Linked DNA regions of Homo sapiens: region 1 is linked to region 2. The links are contacts of gene promoters, found by promoter capture Hi-C in blood cells and fetal thymus (Javierre and others, 2016). All regions are on one chromosome and are shown on one strand. The core of a region is centred on a gene start or on the middle of the fragment in contact, and the rest is flanking DNA. Distances in the headings are between cores, read along the strand shown. Region 1 has its middle 73 kb from the start of LMNB1. Region 2 holds the start of FEM1C (fem-1 homolog C).

The links. The method cuts DNA at HindIII sites, captures the fragments that hold promoters and counts their contacts. A CHiCAGO score of 5 or more calls a contact.
Region 1: a contact is called between a fragment that was not itself captured here and the fragment with the promoter of FEM1C in region 2, in 1 of 17 cell types (non-activated CD4 T cells). The highest score is 8.0, in non-activated CD4 T cells.

Annotation. Positions count from the first base shown.
Region 1 is chr5:126,848,103-126,851,792 of GRCh38, forward strand. No RefSeq gene overlaps it. Among named protein-coding and RNA genes, the nearest start is that of LMNB1, 73 kb to the left of the region's middle. RefSeq lists an enhancer at 1-61. The HindIII fragment of the contact is 7,004 bases long and covers 1-3,690 here.
Region 2 is chr5:115,542,680-115,546,548 of GRCh38, forward strand. FEM1C (fem-1 homolog C) reads right to left here and starts at 2,096. Exons shown (of 3, transcript NM_020177.3): 1 at 1,844-2,096; 2 at 271-1,004. The coding sequence starts at 814. RefSeq lists enhancers at 1,645-2,411, 1,953-2,247 and silencers at 1,677-1,846, 1,897-1,946, 2,047-2,386. The HindIII fragment of the contact is 1,787 bases long and covers 1,284-3,070 here.

The sequences.
Region 1 (3,690 bases), core at 295-2,794, about 11 Mb after region 2:
ATAGGGTTTTCACAGAATTTTCCTATGAACTGTTTTCCCAGCTACTGAATCAGATCATTTCTCTTTAAAAAATTTTTGTCTTGCTAAGAGGAAAATTGTTATGAAATTTGAACTCGGAAAAAAAAAATCAAGATCTGCAAACATTCATATTATGTCATAAAAGAAATAGTGAGCCTGGGTTCTATCCCGAGACATGTTGCATTTCATTACCAGGAAAAGTAATGCGTATTATTACAATCCTTCTGGGAGGGGTCCTTCCCTGGAGAAAGAAGGGCGTGGGTGCTAGAGGTGAATGCTTTGGGTCACTCAGGCAGACCTTATACCAGAAATCCCAGAGGGGACCTGAAGCTGGGCCCTTACCGGACCTTACAGCTGGGGAACACTGGGGACCCCACTGGGAGAAACCGACAGGGGCAGGGTCTGGAAACGCAGTGCTGCTCTGACATGTGGGGAGTACACACCAGCACGTGTTGGTCTCTGACACACGGGACACTTTCACTCTCACATAGGAAGGCAGAAAAGCAGCATAAGACCCATCAAGAGGAAGCAGGGTGAAAGGAAAGGGGGCAAACATTTATTGAATGTTCACTCATGCTTGAGTTGTCACATCAAACATTACCTTACAGCTCACAATACTGCATTATTAGTATTGTCCTTGTTTTGTAGATGGGATAACAGGCCCACAGGTTGTCATTTATTCACTTGTTCATTCCTTCACCAACCATTCACTGGGAGATTTAGTTTTGCCAGGCGCTACTGAGCAAGGCATCAAGAATACCAAGATGAGACAGCCAGTTCTTTTCTTGAGGAACTCAGTGTGATCACAGTTCTATTATCCTTGATGACTATGCCTATTCTGCTATCCCAGGGAGCTGTCAAAAAAAAAAATAACATAGCCAGTTTACTAATGAAAACGGTGCTATTAATTGTTGAAATGAATGGGAACAATTCCAACTGTCGGATAATCCCCAAATCCCTATTTAAAATCTCTGTTGTTTCTAATGTTCTTCAAATTAATGGCAAATGTAATAAACATTGTTTTCATGGTGAGGTTTAGAAAATGCTTTCTTGTATATTAGCTGATTTGCACCTCTCAGCGTATGAAGATGGACTTAGGAGCAGGAACAGCTCCAGCTCTTGCTCAATCTGCCTTCCTCCCACTATCGCATCGTAAGCTCTCAGATAAGGCAGAAAGCCACAGCCCTGGTAGAATGACCTTTCCTAAACTGGCTGTTTCAGGATGCACTTTCCCTGACATCAGGGAGGTAGTTAAGTGTTCTGATTTAAAACTCTCCTTTGGGGGGATAGTCACCTTTAGGTAAGCTAACACACCACCCAGCAAGTAGGTGAAAGCAGTTTGGACCCCAGTGATGCAATGTGTTACTGTATCTAGGAAGTGTTGAAAATGACCCAGAGGGTATGCAAGTACATCCAAGTTATCCTGATGGGGGTAGGGTGGGGATGCTGTGAATAACAGGAATTATTGGAACTGGTGATTCAGCTTTGATTGGAAAGGAAATAAAATAAATGATTTTTTAATGATAGAGAATTCAATTATAGTCATGGGTTATGTCCCAAATTTATACTTTCCCACATAGATGGGTCTTCTCCATAGATAGACTTCACGTAGAAAGAATAAACAGCACATTGTTTTTGCCTTTGAACTAGGTCTGTGAATGGAAAACCCTTGATAAGAGAAGTAGTTAATGACACTAAGTTGCTGTCACTTAGTGATGTAAGTCTAAAAAAGCTAACATTCCTGCATCTCAGTTTCCTTATCTGTAAATTGGAACTAAAGATCCTGTTACAAAGAGTTGATAGTGGAATAAATGAGGCCATGTAAGATGGTCATACCAATATAGTAGGTTGTAAAGAAATAGGAATTTAAAACTAATTAACTTAAAATTTTTTGATCACGGGAATTAAGATGGGAAGTAAGGTGAGGCTGTCCTGTTATAAAATGGCAGGGCTGTTAATTATTGTTGGCTTAAGTAAGTCTATTAGCAAAAATAGTGCCAGTCAGAATTAACATTTCTCCTGGGTTAAGTCAACTGAGTGGTTAAACAAGGAAGGCCATTGAGAACACTGGAAACACCACATTTTACTCATTTTATTAATAAATATTAATATTAATTAAACAAACTTTTTTTTTTTTTTTGAGAGACGGAGTCTCACTGTTGCCCAGGCTAGAGTGCAATACAGCCTCTGCCTTCCAAGTTCAAGCAATTCTCCTGTCTCAGCCTCCCAAGTAGCTGGGATTACAGGTGTGCGCCACCATTCCCAGCTAATTTTTGTATTTCTAGTAGAGATGGGGTTTCACCATATTGGCCAGGCTGGTCTCTAACTCCTGACTTCAAGTGATCTGCCCACCTTGGCCTCCCAAAGTGCTGGGACTACAGGCATGAGCCACTGTGCCTGGCCCACAACAAACATTGATTAATCACTTACTAAGTTGCATGCTGTGCACTGGCAATACAATGGTGAGCGAAAAGAAATTTCTGCCTGACCCTGGTTGGGGTGGGGGTGGGGGGCATCAATCAAATATTCACACCGATGTGTAGAACAACAACTGTGGTCAACTGCTGTTATAAAAGGCAGGCACCACACGGCACGCTTCAGGAGCACTGGTCTTTTATGGGAAATGGTCATTAGGAAAGAATTGTCTGGTAGGAGGCTGAGTTTCAAAGGTGAAGTTCTCGCCTCCGCAGTCATGACAACAGCTCCAAGGTTGGGGACGTTAAGGGGGAGGTTCAAATTCTTTGACTTCTCGTTAAGACGATTTGAGCTTATTAAAAACTGGCCATGATCTCTCAGAGCATTAGCTAAGGGATACAGCTGGTGATCCTGATAGGGCATTTTGCTCTAACCTTGGAAGAATCCGTCTAGACTCCAGCCAGAACTTGATTGCAGACAGAACAGTGGAGAAAGAGGGGCCACAGTCCTGCAGCCTCAGTCTGTTTCCCTGGTGTTCCTGAGTGGTCCTGGGTACTCACAGGCACCCGAACTCAAGGGTCCAGGTCAGTCCAGAGTGCTTTCATGGAAACGGCAGGCTATGTGTGCCGAGAATGTCGCTCAGCCAATTGCATGGAATTCAGAGTTCCCCTGAGGTTCCCTGAGACTTGGTTCTCCCTGCTCTGATGGGATTTGGGATAGAAAGTGGGAGTGCCTGGTTAATTTGGAGTTTGAGGGCCTAGTGCTTTCAAAGAGAGATCCCCACCTGGGAGAATCATAACTCACATCCTCTTCCACCCTATACCTACCCGGTTTGGACAAGTAAAAGCAACACTTAAATAAGTGGCAAAATCTGCTTTTTTCCTGTTGCAAATTGAATATTATATGAGGGACAATGACTATTCCCAGCTTGATGCTTTGGAAAGTGCGTTTGGATTTTTCCATTTTAGACAAATGTCAGCTTTCCCCCGAAGTGGCCTCCATCGTGCTTGTTTGTTCCAAATCATTTTTCAATGCTGTGATTTCCCTTCTCTTTGCTTTAAACACTCAGTCACGTGGCTTGTCTCCACCGTGTGGAGGTGCCGGGTGCCTGGTTGGGTCTCTCTGCATTTCTGGCAGGAAGAAGGCATTTGTGAATACTGTCAGTACTTGTGACAGGTTGGTCACATTGGAACCTTTGCCCCTGTTGTTTAAAACCGAAGAAGACTGTGACTGTGGAGGTGCCCCGTGTGCTCAGCG
Region 2 (3,869 bases), core at 846-3,345:
AACTCTGGGGAACCCATTTCCCAAGAATTTTAAGTTACTCCAAATAAGAGAGAAAATACTGCTTAACAGAGTAACAGAAGTCTTTTATCACACTTTTTCAATCTATTACCAAACATCATAGAAACACTCAACAAAGTCATACTGGAAGACTTACCTAATCAAAACAGGTCTGTCAATGCTGGTTTACTCAACACCAGTGCTTATAATGATGTATCAAACTTCCTGAAAATAAGTGGTAGACATTTAGAAAAACAAAGAAGCTGAACTCACCTTTGACACTTTTTCTATTAACATCTGCCCCCTTTTCAAGTAAATACTGAGCAATCTCTTTATGTCCTTTGTAACATGAAATCATCAAGCACGTATGCCCATGTCGGTTTGACACTTCCAAATCAGCTTTGTGTTCTACAAGGTACTTCACTATTTCCAAATGGCCATCGAAACACGCAGCTCGAAGAGGAGTTGAATTGGTTAAAGTCGTGTTGTTGACAGATGCTCCATGATTTAACAAGGACTGGACCACCTTCAGATGTCCTGCTGCAGAAGCGGCCCATAAAGGGGGAGCCCCCTCAATGGTTTCGCCATCAAAATTGACGGAGCCCCCAACTTCTATGGAGGCACTGCATTGCTCTAGGAGGAATTCCACCATGTCAAGGTGCCCATACCTGGCGGCCATCAAGAGTGGCGTGGCCCCATTTGTTTTTTCAGAGATCAAGGAGGAAACCTCCTCTTTGGATTTGCTTGCCAACAATTTGGTGAGAAGCCGGAGTTTGCCATCCCGAGCTGCGTTAAATACTGCTGTCTTTAGATCCATTTATGTCCAGTTGAGAGGCTGTGCTTTATTTATCTTTCAAAGCAGAGCTCCAGTTTAACTCTATCGACACAGGCAAGAGTCACAGGAACCAAAGTCCAATGTTAATTGCTGCACCCCAGAACGGATACACAACCACGAAGAGTATGTTCCGTCCTACTGCTTTCCAACATCTGACAACCAGGGCACCAAACTAGAGAAAGAAAAAAAAAGTAGCAGCATTTAATTTTCTATAGAAGAAGGCAAAACACTTCTTAATTTCCACTTCTGTGGGAAGAAAGGAATAAAAGCTATACTTCAGGCACTACTCCATCCCACACACCCCCCCCACCCCCAAAGAAAAGGTGGTAAAGAAAAATACAGAAGGATACACAGAGACCCAAATGTTCTGGTCGCAGGCAGTCTCCTCCATGTGCGGAAAATTTAAACACTACAGGCAGCCCGTTTTCTCGCCTCCAGCTCTAACCAGCCAAGCTTTGTTCTAGTTTTGCTTTGCACACGCCCAGGGAGAGTACAACCGAAAGAGGCAGGAGACTCGGGTTCAGAAATGTTTCTCTTTCTTGCAACTGCAGGAGAGCTGGCCAAGGGCGCCAGGCTGGAAGGCCTGAGGCCGGGTTTCGAGAAAGAACAAAAAGGTCGGACACACCAAACCCCGGCTAAGGCCAAAACTGTGCCCCGAAAGATTCTCTTTCCTTTAAAACTACTCACGGCTCTCAGGAAATCCGCCTGCCTTTTAGTCATTAACTTCGCCCGCCCCATTTCGATCACCCCCCACCCCCCGCCAAGGGATGATCCGCAGGTTCCTCAAACCACAGTCGCCCCAACACAACCTTCCCCTCTCCCTGTTCCAGACAACGGCAGCCCCCTCCCAATCTCCTCCATCGACCACAACCCCCTCCCGATGGGCCAAGCTGTGGCCTCCAGCCCGCTGCCCGCCTTCGGCTCCCCCGGCGCCCTCCTTCCCGCCCAGGCCTTCCGCGGGCACCTCAGGCCCCGGCCCGAGCCCTGGCAGGCCGCTGCCGCCGCCACTACCTGCCCGGGGACTAGTCCTCCCCGCCGCCGCTGGTCACTCGGGCTTTGTCCGTCCCCTTCAAAGGGAAACCGTTGTCCCCACCGCCGCCCGGGCCGCCCTGCTCCGCCTGCGGCCGCACAGCTCCTCCATGCTCCGCGCCCCAAAGGAATGAATCCGGCCGCGCTGTTCGCCACGCCCCGCCACCCGAGCTGCCTCCCGCCCTTAGTCGGCTCGGACTGCAGCGGCTGCAGCGACTGCTGCGACGGATGGTGTAATGGGCTGCGAGCCGGGGGCCGGACAAGCCTGAGCGTCACATCACTGACTGTGCCGCCACGCCATTGGGCCGGGGGAGGGCGGCGGCCGCGGCCAGCAACAGCCTAGGCGCGGGGCGGGGCGTCGCGGCCGGGGTGGGGCGACGGGGAGGGGGCGGGGCCTGAACTACTGGGAGGACGTGCCTGCGTGCAACGCGCTGGGGGGCGGGGCGCTGCGAGGGGGCGGATCTGTGCCCATCGAAGCGGCCCGAGGCAGCTCGAGTTCTGAGATCTCGCTGGCTCTTCTCCTCTCGGATTTTCGGGGTGCTCCCTTAGGGAATCTTTCGGTCCCATCTCAGAGACCCCAGAAGGGAAGTGTATTAGTGCGTTTTCACGCTGCTGATAAAGACATACCCGAGATTGGGTAATTTATAAAGATAAAAAGATTTAATGCACTCAGAGTTCCACGTGGCTGGGGAGGCCTCACAATCAAGCCAGAAGGGGAAAGGCACGTCTTACATGGCAGCAGGCAAGAGAGGAAAATCAGAGCCAAGGAAAAAGGGAAACCCCATATAAAACAATCAGCTCTCCTGAGACGTACTCACTACCACCAGAGCAGCATGGGGGAAACAGCCTTCTTGATTCAATTATCTCCCACTAGGTCCCTCCCACAATATGTGGGAATCATGGGAGCTAAAATTCAAATTTGGGTGCGGACCAGTATTACCCTCACACACGTGAAGTCTCTCGGACTAGTCTTCCGTCCTTACTTTGGTGGGCCCTGGAAATTACCAAGCTCGTAATTACACCTCAGAACACACACGGAGGAAACTGAAATTTCAGAAAATGTGATTAGTTTTGGAGGCTGTCAAACTGACTCTCTTTCTAAAGTAGCCTCTAAAAAGCATAAAGGCTACGAGGAATGGTAAACCCTAAGAGCAATGTAAAGTCAATGAGGTCAGGTTCTTGAGCTCTGAGTAATAAATCGGGAACTAAAGCTTAAAAGGTTATATATATGAATGAAAAGAATTACTTCTTCATATAGTAGTTGATAAACCTCTGGAATTTGATGCTAAAACCTACGTTGCATTAAACTAGGATGAAAAAGTTTAAATGTGTTTGGGAAATAACGCCCATAATGAATCCTGATGAGAAAACAGAATTTTTGAAAATGGACCTTCAATCACTTTGTTTGAGGGAACTTAAGCTCACATAATTCCTTAGTACCACTAGGAGAAATAGAATATTACAGTAGGCAGTCTGACCCTCAGCATATGTAATCCATAACGTTATGTTAGAAGTCATGCAGCACTAAAAACATTTATAAAAAATCACAACTTCATTTTTGTATATTGTAGTGTTGTTCAGAAGTTTATGTAGTTTTGCATAATTGAAATAATTTTCATACAACTATATATTTTGCTTTTCCTTTCTATACTCTAAACGTTTCTTATGTTTTTACAGTCTTAATAATTTTTAAGTATAGCATAGTATTTCCCTTAGGTAGTCAGTATCAGACTACACTCAACATCAGATTCCCAAAACTGAAGTTAAGGTAATTGCCACTGAGAAGAAAATATAAAAGAATAGAGTATAAAGGATAAGATTGACCATCCATAAAAATTAACCAGCCAAGAGGACTGGCTGTTTTATCCCCAGCATATGTCACAGTTCTATACTCTCCCAGGGTACAGATAACAGTGTACAGTGTCCCAACCAAGGCCTAACCTGAGCTGACCTGTCTCTCTCACCTAATTCAATAAGATGTAAACATTCACATCAGCCATCTTCAAAC